3 separate regions of the Homo sapiens genome follow, and all the other regions are linked to region 3. Evidence: promoter capture Hi-C in human tissues and cell types (Jung and others, 2019). All regions are on one chromosome and are shown on one strand. Each heading gives the region's core, a stretch centred on a gene start or on the middle of the fragment in contact. The rest is flanking DNA. Distances are from core to core; before and after follow the strand shown. Region 1 overlaps LOC124904855 (a long non-coding RNA gene). Region 2 overlaps PSMF1 (proteasome inhibitor subunit 1). Region 3 holds the start of SDCBP2 (syndecan binding protein 2).

Region 1 (4,110 bases), core at 1,430-3,929, 150 kb before region 3:
TTCTCCAGGAGAGACCAGCAGGCCCAGATGGAGGGCCTCCCTGACTTTGTGAGTGCCTCCTGACAGAACCTGACACAGAACCCCATCCTGTGGCTTCTTAATAATGCCTCCCTTCCCCTCTACTCCTGCCCCTTCAAAGCTCTCCAGACACAGAGTACCAAGCTTTGGAAAGTCCTCTGCTTGTGTTATCTGATCCCCCAGCTTTCAGAGAAGGCAGAGTGGGAAGGTTTCCAATTTTCCTCTGGTAGACCAGAGAGATGGAGTAATTTGCCCAAAGGCCCACAGAGAGAAGGGGTGACCAACAGGACCTAGCTCTCCTGGTTCCCAGCCCAGGATCACACAGTCCCCTCCAGAAATGCCAGGACAGAAATGCTTCTGGACATCTCTCCCCATCCTGCTAAGGGCGGGGGAAGCAGGAAAAATACAGAGAAACCAGCCTCGCCTGGGGAGGAGAAACTTGATTGTTGCTGTGAGGTTGGCATTCTGGGAACTGCAAGGCCTATGGCTGGTGGAGAAACAGAAAATGTCGTCAATCATCCAGAGGATGTCCTGGCTTGAAGCTGCTTTACAAGATAGGTGTCCTTGGTCTCTGGGCTTGGTCAGACAAGAGAAAGCTCTGTGTGTGTGTGTGTACGTGCAAGCGCATGTGTGTGCTCTTGCACATATGCACATGTGTATGTACAGACATGTCCATTCAGTGAGGACATTTTAAAGAGAATCCCAGGGAAATTAATGCTTATTCTCAAGGAAGGGAGCAAAAATGGTGGAATCTCAGGCAGCTGGCATTTTGGGCTGGGAGATGCCTGAGGTAAGTGAGTAGATGTGATCATGGATACTGGGGTTCCAAAGGGCCAGGCCTGGGCACTCAAGGTCCTTGGATGGGAAGAATCCGGCTGGTTTCTCACAGGCCCCTAAACACCCAGCAAATGTCTCCCAGGTTTAGCTGGAACCTGGGTATGTCCCAACAAGGTTAGGGGAGAAGGGTCTTCTGAGGGACACCCCTCTAACCCTTCCACATAAAGCCCTACCAAGGCCCAGGGAGAGGAAGGCAAATGGATTCCCAAGTTCCCAGCTGCAGGGCCCAGTGACAAAATCAGCACCTTTGAGGCATGTGATCCTTTGCACAACTGATCCTCACCCCTAGAGAGGGCTCCAGGAGTCTGGGAAGGAACCATGGGCCTCCTGGGTCCTGCATATGGCTCTGCAGCACTGGCAGGTATAAGAAGCTTTTGTTACATTTATTCATCCATTCATTCAACAGTGAGCACCTACTATGTGCCAAACATGTTTCTAACACTGGGAGTACAGCAAGAACCAGTTAGACCAAAATTCCGGCTTTCATGGAGCTTGCAGTCCAGCAGGAGAGGTCGTGGGTGGGAAAGACAAGTACAAGGCTCAGCCTGCTGGGTCATGATTAGTGATCAGAGAAAAATAAGGCAGCGAAGGACAAAAGGGAATGAGGTGGGGTGGGGTACAAATTTAAATATGGTGTTCAGCAAAGGCTTCACTGAGGAGAAGATATTTGAATAAAGCCCCTAAGGAGGTGAGGGAGTGGGCCTTGCAGATACTGAGGGGAAGTACCTTCCAGGCAGAAGAAGCAGCACGTCTGAAGTCCCTTGGATGTGAGCGTGCCCAGTAAGGTTGAGGAATGGTCAAGAGGCACGTGTGGCTGGGGTGAGTGAGCAAGGGGTAAGGGGTGAGAGATGAGGTCAGAGAAGCACAGGGTCCCAATTGCTTAGTGCCTTGTAGGCCACTGTGAGGGATGAACCCTGGTTTGGGGGTACCTGAAGCTTATGCAGTCCAGTGGGGCATCCTCAAGATAGATAAACCAATTCAGGGCCTTGGAAGGGGCTTGTGCTAGTGAGAGGCCCGGACACTTAAGCTTTGCCAGTCTTGCTATAAATCTGCCACTGGTTGTGGTGAGAATTTTGGCTTTTGCCTGGAGAGGGAGCCATAGGAGAGTTTTGAGCAGAGGAGTGGCCTGACCTGACCAGCCTCTGGCCTTCCTCTGGCTGCTGAGTGGAGCATGAACCTGGTGATGGGGCGGGGAGGAGGGGAGGAGAAGGGGGTAAGAGAGAAAGCCAGAACACCAGTGAGCAACCCTGGACTGGCGGTGACAGCCGAGGGTGGACAGCAATCAGATTCTGAAAGTGGAGCTGACAAGATGCGCTGATCTGGAATGTGAGGTGTGATAGAAGAAAGGCAGAAGGGTTGACCACAGCGTTTGAGGCCTAATCCAGCTATCCCCAGTTGAGGTGGGGAAGGAGAGCATCATCATCCCTGGACCTCATACTATGCAGTTCTCCATTTTATCTGTAATCTGCACCACCACCCTGAGGCAGAGCTTTCATTAATCCCACTTCACAGATAGAGAAATCCCGACTCAGAGAGGTGGAGTAACTTGCCCAAGGTCACACAGCCAGTAAGTGGCAGAGCCTGGATTCCAACTTTAGTCTTACCAACTCCAAAATCGGTATCTGTTCTGATGCACCAGGAAAAGCAAGGTTTGGGGCCCTAGGAGCAGGTTAGGTGGGAGAGGCAGTTCCTGGAGGAGAGGCACATTCCAGTAACCACAGAGGCCCCTGGAATGCCTGCAAAGAAAGTTCTCAGCATCCTACTCCGTGTTCCTAATCACCTCCTCCTTAAACCTGTTTCTGATCCATCAGCTGGCAGATCTCAGCTGTAATCATGGGGAAATGCTTTTGTCATCTCTTAAGTTTTCTTAATTCACTGACAAGGTAATAACGCCTCAGTCCATTATACACATTTTCTAAAGGACTTTCAACATTAGAATGCAAAGCAGGCTTCTCTGGCTTAGAAAAACCTGAGACTCCTGGGATTTAATCATCAAACAGATTTAGCCCCTAAATCTGTTTGATGATTAACATCAAACATTTCGTAAGAAAAAAACAAATGGTAGTGCGGCCAGCATGTCCAGGCCACCCAAATATGCCCAATTTCTCCCCTAAATAAACTCATTGCATTTAAACTGATATGAACTGATGGTCCCAGATGCATTCACTCAACAGGTTTAGTATCCAAATGAGTCTGCCACCATCACAGTAATCCATATGACTTGGTTGATATTTTTTTAATTATCATTATGGATTGAAAAGCCTTAGCCCATGATTTGGGATGTCCAATCCTATGTAGTTTACTTAGAACAGCTCATGCCACGTTCTGTGGCTGTGCCTACTTGGAGCCTGGGAGAAAGCGACACAACAGTGGAAGCCTAGGACTTGTGAATCTTTTACCATCTTGGAGCTTTGCTCTTTCCACACCATACCCCTTCAATACCACAACAAAAACCTGGGAAGCCAAGCTAAACAACCCTTGTCCTTTCCAGTCTTCCTCTAGCTCTCTGCTCTTGGTAAAACCTACCAGTAGGAGCAGATATTTGATCTGTCATAGAAGCTGTGATATTACACTCCCCAGATGTTTAACTCACTGGACTGAAGGCTCAAGTTACAGCTAATCAGGGCCTCTCTACACTACAGACCCCATGCCCCCCCACCCTCCCACCCCCAAGGAACAGGATCCTCGGCCCATGTGGCCAACTGAGATGGAGTAAGTAGGACCTACATTGGGCAGGGGATTCACTAAAATGGCTCCTGTAGGGTCTCTACACCAGTGGCTTAGAAGGCATGTGCTCTCAAAGCCCTCTGGGTCCATTCAGACTGAAGGATGCCTCCCCACAGTCCTCAAACACCTGTATCTCCTTGCCCCAGGGCCTACTTCCTTTCCTTACCAAGAGTTTAAAGAAAGTCTGCAGGAACCTAGAAACATTTCATAAGAAAAACACAAATGGCAATGTGGCCAGCGTGTCCAGGCCACCCAAATGTGCCTGATTTCTCCCCCAAATAAACTGTGGCTTCACTTTACTACTATATGAGGGAGACTAAGGTTACAAATTCAGCATAAATTTTTTTTTTTCCTGTTATCCAAATAAGGTCAGGAGCAAGAGACATACTATGGAGGAGAAGGTGATCAAGGCCTGCATCATGCCCACAGAAATACAATAAAGCCCTCACCCTTTCCTGTGTAAAAGATCCTTCTTGCCCAGAGAACTGGGTAATATTGTGCACTTGGCTTTGTAAAAATGTGTCACTG
Region 2 (4,034 bases), core at 490-2,989, 200 kb before region 3:
TACCCTCTTTGAACCTATTCCAGTCCTCACAGACTTTCAAACCACTGGCCTCCACATTCTGGCCACTCCTCATTTCTCCTCCCCTCTTCCATGCAGCTTCTGTGTGAGGAGGTCTTTTACATATTCCCCTCCTGCATGCCACCCTCCAGTGTATTTCCCACGCAGCAGTTGGACCAGTCTTTCAGACATAGATCAGATCATAGTTAACAACTCTGGCTTAAAACCCTTCAGTGATGCTGCTTCACACCCATTACGATGGGTAGTATCAGAATAACCAGAAAATAAACAAGCGTTGTCAAGGATGTGGAGAAATTGGAACTCTTGTGCACTCTTGGGAATGTAAAATGGTGCAGCCACTATGGAAAACAATATGACAGTTCTTCAAAAAATTACCGTATAATCCTGCATGTCCACTTCCGGGCATATACCCAAAAGAATTGAAAGTAGGTCTTGAAAAGATATTTGTACACCCATGTTCGTAGAAGCATTATTCACAGTAGCCAAAAGGTGAAAGCAGCTTGGCTGTCCATTGATAAGATGAATGGATGAACAAAATTTGGTATGTAAATACAGTAGAATATTATTCGGCTTTAAAAAGGAAGGAAATTCTGGCCCGTGCTACAACATGGATGAACCTTGAAGACATTATACTAAATTAAATAAGCCATTCACAAAAGGACAAATTCTGTGTGATTCTATTAAAAGTACCTAGATTAGTCAAATTTGTAGAGACAGACAGTGGATGGTGGTTGCCAGATACTGGGGCAAGAGGGGAATAGGAAGGGGAGTTAGTGATTAATGGGTACAGAGTTTGTTTTGCAAAATGAAAAGAGATCTGGAGATGGATGGTAGGTGATTGCACAACAGTGTTAATGTACTTAACAGTACTGAACACTTAAAAATGGTTAAGATGGTAAATTTTATGCATATTTTACCACAGTTAAAAGTCTTTAGGGAATACTCATTGCTGTTAGGATAAAGAGCACAATCCTTGATGAGGCCTTAAAGCATTCACCCCTTCAATCTCACCTTGTACTGCCTTCCCCGCATCCCTGTGCTTCAGCCACAGTGTCATTCTTCTGCCCTCTTCAGACCTCTTCCCTCTGTCTAAAGTGCTCTCCCTGACCTCACGTAGCCAACTCCTGTTTATCTTTTGGTTACCGATTTAAACGTCAGTTCCTTAGAGAAGCTTCCTCTGGCCCCCAGGCTTACAGCTTCAAAACATTTTAGTAAAATGTTTTTTTTGGAGTCAGGTTTCCCTCTGTTGCCCAGGCAGGCTGGAGTACAGTGGCACAATCAGCTCACTTATAAACAGGCCAAGCAGCCTCAACCTACTGGGCTCAAGTGACCCTCCCACCTGAGCCTCCCAAATAATTGGGTCTACAGGCATGTGCCACCATGCCCAGCCAGTTTTTTATTTTTTGTAGAGATGAGGTCTTTGCTGTGTTGCCCTGGATCAAAACATCATTTTTTAAGCATTTAATCCATCAGATATTTTACATTTACCTTCTTAGGGTTGGTCTTCCCTCCTTGCCTGTGATCTCCTTGAGGGCAGGGTTTGGGTGTCTTCTGCATGCAATAGACAAAGGGAGGGAAGGGGAAGTGAGCCAGGCCTGGCCGGCAGAATGCTGCGCCTCTGAGGAAAGGGGGAAGTGAGCCAGGCCTGGCCGGCAGAATGCCGCGCCTCTGGGTGTTGCACACTCCCTGACACCCTGGCCCCTCTTAGTGGGTAAGGGAGGGACATTTGGAGTGTGGTCTCTTGACTTCTTCACTCTGGACTTCCACTGGGAGAGAAATTGACAAAACCTGTGGAAGAACCTAGGAATTATACTGGCCATTCATGCTCATTAGAGCATTCCGTCTGTTCAGCAATACTGAAAGAGAATTGTGATCCTGTCTCTATTTGTTTTTTAAGTACATTTGTTTGAGGGGTTTGTGTGTGAGGGAGGGGATATGTGTTGTGTTTTGTTTTGTTTTTTGATTACTGTGAAATGAGGGACACAATAGTACTACCTCAGGGTTTTTCTGAGAATGGAATGAGATGTCAGCACATAGAGTGCTTAGCGCTTAGTCCAGCTCTTAGTAAAATACACAAAGGGGAAAAAAATGTGATCACCAGGAGTCATCTCCGTGGAAATGGGCGGTGAAAGCTGAGGTATGGCTCTGCCTCCTGATCAGAGGCCCTGTCTCCCTCCTATGCCTTTCAGCCATAGCTTCCTCCATGTAGCCCTCTTTATTAGGTCATTGTGGCATGTCTTGCCTCTTCCAGCAATTTGTGCTCCTCAGTGAGCAAACTGTGATTTGCTAAGAAATATAAACCTATTGTGTTCCATTCTGCTGTACCCTTTCTGTGTCGGATGAGATGGTAGGCTGTCTTTTGCCACAACCAAAATGGCAGTTGTTCTTTCAAGGCTTAGAAATTGTGTGAGAACTTCTCCTTCAGGACCTGGTGGTTTTTTAATCAGGCCTGAATTTTACACATGCCTAGGGAGATCAGAGGCCTCCCTCTGATCTGATTAAAAGGAAAGAAGACTTGAATTTACCCTCCCACCCAGCTTGGGCAGGCAAGCAGCTCATTTTTTACCCATGGATGTCCAATGGCCCCAACATCATTTGTTATTCCTTCATTGAATTACTTTTGAAACTTTGTCAAAAATCAGTTGTCTGTACATCTGTGGATCTATCTCTGGATCCCTTGTTCTTTTCCATTGATCTCTATGTCTCTTCCTCTGTCAATATTACTCTATCAGTATTGATTATTGTAGGCCTTAATATTGAGTAGAATAATTCCTCCCACTTTTTCTTCGTCAAGGTAGTTGTAGCTATTCTAGGTTCTGTGCCTTTTCTTTTTTTTCTTTTTTCTTTCTTTTTTTTTTTCTTTGTTTGAGACAGAGTCTCACTGTGTCTCAAAAAGGCTCAGGCTGGAGTGCAGTGGTGTGATCTTGGCTCACTTCAACCTCTGCCTCCGGGGTTCAAGTGATTCTCCTGCCTCAACCTTCTGAGTAGCTGGGACTACAGATGCGTGCCACCATGCCTGGCTAATTTTTTGTATTTTTAGTAGAGACGGGGTTTTACCATGTTAGCCAGGATGGTCTCGATCTCCTGACCTCGTGACCCACCCATCTTAGCCTCCCAAAGTGCTGGGATTACAGACGTGAGCCACCGCACCTGGCCTCTGTGCCTTTTCATATAAACTTTAGAGTAAGCTTGTGTATATCTATGAAAAACCTTGCTAGGATTTTGATAGGAGTTGCATTAAACCTATAGATTAGTTTGGGGAGAATTGACATTCTTGCTATGAACATGATATATCTTATCTCTCCATTTATTAATATTTAGGTTTTATTTGATTTCCATCAGTATCATTTGTAATTTTCAACATATAGATCCTGTACATAGCTTGTTATTTGTTTAAAGCAGAAAGGGAGATGATTATGAATGGCATATTCTGTCCTTTGTTTTGGTTTTCAAATGTTCATTGTTAGTGTGTAGAAATGTAGTTGATTTTCCTGTGTTGAACTCTTCTATCCTGTCACCTTGCTGAATTCAAGGTGTTTAGGGTTTTTTTGTTTTTTTTTTTTTTTGGTAGATTCCTTGGGAATTTCAGGGTAGACTATCATGTCATTTGCAAATAGGGACAGTTTTATTCCTTACTTGCTAATATGAATGCCTTTTGTTTTTCTTGCCTTATTGCAGTGGTCAGGATGTCCAATATTATGTTAAATAAGAGTGATGAGAAAGAATATGCTTTCCTCGTTCCCAATCTTAGGAGCAAAGCATTCAGTCTTTCACAGTAAAGTATATTGTTAGGGGTAGGTTTTTTGTAAATGTTCTTTATCAGGTTAAAGAAGTTCCCCTTTATTCTTAGTTTGTTGAGAGTTTTTAATCTTGAATGGATTTATCATGTTGGATTTTGTCAAAAGCTTTTTTCTGTATCAATTGATATGATCATATGATTTTTCTTCCATAGCTTATTGATATGGTAGATTACGTTGATTGATTTGTGACTATTAACCAGTCTTGCATGCCTAGAA
Region 3 (4,231 bases), core at 598-3,097:
CTTTGAACTTAGAGTGAGAACACTCTTTGGAACACTTTGTTCCAAAGAGCTGAAGTGATGGAACTCCCACTCGTTCCTGTGGACAGCTCATCCGTCCTTTACAAGACAGTGCGCGGGAGGGAAGCGTGGGTTAGAGTGTCAGAGGAATAGCTCCTGGAAGGCCAAATTAGCCCAGGGATGTGGTGAGTCGGAATAGAAGAAGCTGTTGCTAGGCCACCAGCATGTACCCCCACTCCTCCTCTCAGTGCTGCACTGCCTGCTGGGGAAAAGCTGTGACTTCCTCAAGCAGACACGCCTGAACCCAGGCCCAGGCAGGGCAGGGTTCAGACTGACTGCTTCTGACTTGTGAGAGCACAGCATAGGCAAATCCCCTTTGAATGTCATTTCTTCCTTTGTAATCTGGATAACAATAGTTGCATCACAGTTGTCTGGAGACTGAAAGATTTTTAAAAAGAGTTAAGGTGTATATGGAAAGCATTTAGCACAGCACCTAGCACATAATAGGCATTCAGTAAAAGTTAGCTGTTTATTCATTGTTTCAGCGCTTACTTACTCAGCACCTGCTAAGTCTGAGTACTGTTCTAGGTATCAGCAGTGAAGGAAAGAAGACTTGGTCCCCAAATGTACTTTCTTTGGGGGAAGAGCTGGATAAATAGGCTTTGTGACTCTGTGTGCTGTGTTAGATGGTGGGAGGCACTGGAGAGAAAGAGCAGGACGGAGGGTCATGTCAGGAGGTTCAGAAGCCTTGCTGGCTGGGTGGGGTGACATTTGAGGAAAGGCCTAATGGGGTGGGCACGGCCATTGCAGAGCCTCTCAGGTGGGAGTTGGTGTTGTGTTTAGAGGACATCTGCCAGTGAGAAGCCAGTTGTGCAGAGAGGGAGTAAGGAGGAGTAGTGGGGAGGAAGCTGGAGAAGTGAGAGGGGCCAGATCCTGGAGGGCCTGGAGGTCATGGTGAGGACTTTGGCATTTACTGTAGTGAGATGGGAGCCACTGGGGGATTTGTAGCAGCAGAGTGCCAAGGTCCAAGGGTTATTTTGACAGGCCTCCTCTGGCTGATGTTTGGAGGATGGGCTACAGGGCAGGAGTGGGAGCAGGAGCCCAGGTGGGAAGTGATGGTGGTGGAATTGTCATGAGCTTGGGCCACTGTACGTGAAGCTGCCTGTCCAGTGCTCGCCCAGCCCATACCAGGCTCGTTTTCTGCCCCATTTTCTGAGACCCTGCTGAGGAGGGCATGCACTGGCTCCTGTGTCCAGTATGTCCTTCCATTCTCCTGACTTTGTGGGCTATTTTCAGTCTCCAGATGAAGAAACCAGTTCTTAGAAAGGTGAAGCCCCTGGCGCAGTTCCCCAGCAGGTGTTTCAGTGCTGTGGCAGGAAGGTTTTTTGATAGAAACAGCCTCAGGCCAGAGAAGTCGGCCTGAGCTGTGGATTCCTTGGGAGAAATGGGCTTTTTGCCTGCCTGCAGCCTCTGGTTTCGGCTGGAATTGGCCTTTCAAGGAGCAAAGTGTGGATCTCATCTCCTTGAGCACAGTCATGGGCAGTCAGAAGGCATCGGGGGCCCTCATGATGTCTGGGTGAAGAAAATCACTCAGCCCTTAATCAAACTTGGTCCAGGGCTGGGATCAGAAGAAGAAACCCCACTTCACACTTGACTGCTTGGAGTGAAGCACTTCGAAAGGAAGCTGCCTGGGAAGTCCCAGAAGGGAAGGGGCAGGGAGGGAAGGGGACAGGGTGAGAGCAGGTCTCACTCATCCCAATCCCAGCCAGGATTGGGTCAGGGCCCCCAGCGCTTACCTGCAGGCAAGGTGCTGCTCCACGACCTTCTCCAGCTGCTGCCGCTGCTGAATCTGTTTCCCTCCCTGAAACGTAGCCCTGTCTCTCAGCTGGCTTCCTGATCTGGGAAGGGTGGTGCCTGTCCCCTGTTCAGCTGACTCACCTTGGACTGGGATGGGCACAGGTGAGGGCTGTGGCTGGGTAAACAAGGCAGGTTGCCAGCCCAGAGGAGGCCTTTGGCCTTAGTCTGGATTTGGAGGTGGGATTAAGGCCCTCACAGCTGCTGTTCAGACGGTTATGAACCAAGACTTCTTGGCCTTTTCTTAAATAGCTCTAAATTTGGGTTGGACACCTAGTCCTGCTGATCGAGGCAGTTGGCTAGAGGGCGGTTTGTGATAGGTATCTAGGGGTCTAGGCCAGGATATTAAAAAGTGGTCATATCCTGTGACCCAGCATTTCTTCTAGGAATTTGTTACAGTGGAGTCACAGGGCCCATCCATCACTGCTGCTTCTAGTAAGGAAAATGTAGAAATCCCAAATGCCCATCTCTGTGGTCTGCTTGAATAAATCATTGTCTGTGGAAGATCACAGAGCTATTAAAGTCACTTAAGGAAGAAGGTATGAGGAAACATTTCTGAGATTCTAGTGAGATGTTGAAAAATCAATATTGTGAATCTCTTCTTGCATTTTGTTTTCATTTTTTGTAAAGTGGATGTGCGTTGAAAGCAGTCTAGGAGGACATACGCTAAAATGCTGAGTATCTCTGAATGGCAGCATTGAGGGTGAGGTTTTCAGTTTGTACTTTTGTGTGTTCCAAGGTGGTTTTTTTTTTTTTAAGTTAGCTTTTGCTCTGAATGCTCATGACTTTTGTAAGGGGGAAGCAATTAAGTTTGATTATTTTAATGGGAATTTAGAGTGGTTGTCTCTTGGGAGCAGACCTAAGGAGCTGTGTGCTGAGGTGGAGATTTTTTTTTTTATGGCACATTTTTGGTGTCTTAAATTTTGAAAAGTTTAAATGTACTACTTATTCCAAAAATAATTATATAAATTTGAACAGAAAAGGAGGAAGAATTTAGTTTAGATCCTGGTGGGTTTGGTTGGGTGAGGGTGCCTGTCGCACTGGGTGCCTGGGGAGGGACGAGGGACTCGTGTGCTGGGCAGTCCCATGAGGATTGACGCTGTACACACTCAGGGTGTGTCAGTATCTGGGCTGCTTCCTGGGCCAGGCAGGCCTACGTCACAGTTCCCATGACCCACCTGGCAGAGTTGCACTAGCCTTGGGTGTCAGATCTTGTGCCTGCCAATGAAGAGCTTACAGCCCAGAGTCCCACACAGGAAACACACAATAGGAATAATAACAAGAAAGACATTTGCCACTAATTCAGCACTTACTCCCAGAGAGCACAGAGATTCTACCCCTGGCACTTTAAAGGCATTATCTCAATGGCTTCTCATGCCATCCCTGCAGAGTAGGTGTGACTCACACCATTCCTCCAGGTGGGGACACTGAGGCACAGAGGCAAAGTTTCTCTCTCAAGTTAGCTGGAAAGTGGGCCAAGTTCATGTCTTCTCTTCTATGGGACATACTGTTTCAGAAAGCTGAGGTGTGGGGCAACCTCAGAGTAAGCTGTGTGGGCCTGAAGCTGAGGTAACGTGGGTGATGGACCCACCTTAGGTCAGGTGTCCAAGGCCAAAGCAAAGTGGAAAATAGAGATCCTAACTAAACCAAGCCACTCCTCCCCCACCTCACTTCATTCAGTCATGACCTGAAAGGGCCTTTATAGAAGAGGGAGGAGGAAGCAGGCCCTTCCAGGTAAGGGGCTTGCCTGTGGTCCCAGCATGTCAGCATGGAGCCCAGGTCCCCTAACTCCCACCTATTTAATACCTACAGGGACTCTCTTTCTATTCCCTCTTTGGATAGTTGCCACCCATCACTGACTTCCAGCCACCTGGAAATATCTTTCATTGGGCATGCCCTTGCTCGAACTCTTCAGTGGCTCCCTCCTGCTTCAGGGTCTGGGCTAAACTCCCAGGGCTGACATGGAGACCTCCACAGCCCACTCCCTTTATTACCTCCTCAGCACTCCCCCAGCACCTCTGCCTCAGCTGGACTGGGAGCCCCACCATTCCTGCCCCACTGCACACCCACTTCCTACCTGCCCTGACTCCATACCTTTGCCTGTCCTGCTGCTGCCCCTGGAACACCTTCTCCTGCCCCCACCCACCTAGCCACATCCACCACTGAGCTCCTCCAGGAAGCCTCTGGGATCCCCCACATCCATGTGGCCTCTCCCGCCTCTGACTCTGGATCAGACGCTCCTGTTCCATTCTTTAATAATCATCATCTTGTACTCATGTGTACCTTTTAGGCTACTAGTTAGACCCTAAGTTCCCTGAGGGCAGGGCCAAGTTATTAGCTCTACAGTGGTCATTCTTTTGAGACAGCATTTCGCTCTGTC

What was found. Contacts are between HindIII fragments. The study calls those that stand out against the background at their distance.
Region 1: a contact is called between a fragment that was not itself captured here and the fragment with the promoter of SDCBP2 in region 3, in 5 of the 25 tissues and cell types used here (H1 embryonic stem cells, liver, mesenchymal stem cells and 2 more).
Region 2: a contact is called between a fragment that was not itself captured here and the fragment with the promoter of SDCBP2 in region 3, in 1 of the 25 tissues and cell types used here (H1 embryonic stem cells).

The regions. Positions count from the first base shown.
Region 1 is chr20:1,175,911-1,180,020 of GRCh38, forward strand. It overlaps LOC124904855 (a long non-coding RNA gene), which reads left to right. Exons shown (of 2, transcript XR_007067486.1): 2 at 1-4,042. Among named protein-coding and RNA genes, the nearest start is that of TMEM74B, 7.0 kb to the right of the region's middle. The HindIII fragment of the contact is 5,387 bases long and covers 1-4,110 here.
Region 2 is chr20:1,129,401-1,133,434 of GRCh38, forward strand. The region is part of intron 3 of PSMF1 (proteasome inhibitor subunit 1); the gene reads left to right. Among named protein-coding and RNA genes, the nearest start is that of PSMF1, 13 kb to the left of the region's middle. The HindIII fragment of the contact is 3,650 bases long and covers 1-3,564 here.
Region 3 is chr20:1,327,292-1,331,522 of GRCh38, forward strand. SDCBP2 (syndecan binding protein 2) reads right to left here and starts at 1,848. Exons shown (of 9, transcript NM_080489.5): 1 at 1,794-1,848. The region is part of intron 2 of FKBP1A-SDCBP2 (FKBP1A-SDCBP2 readthrough (NMD candidate)); the gene reads right to left. The region is part of intron 1 of SDCBP2-AS1 (SDCBP2 antisense RNA 1); the gene reads left to right. The HindIII fragment of the contact is 26,056 bases long and covers 1-4,231 here.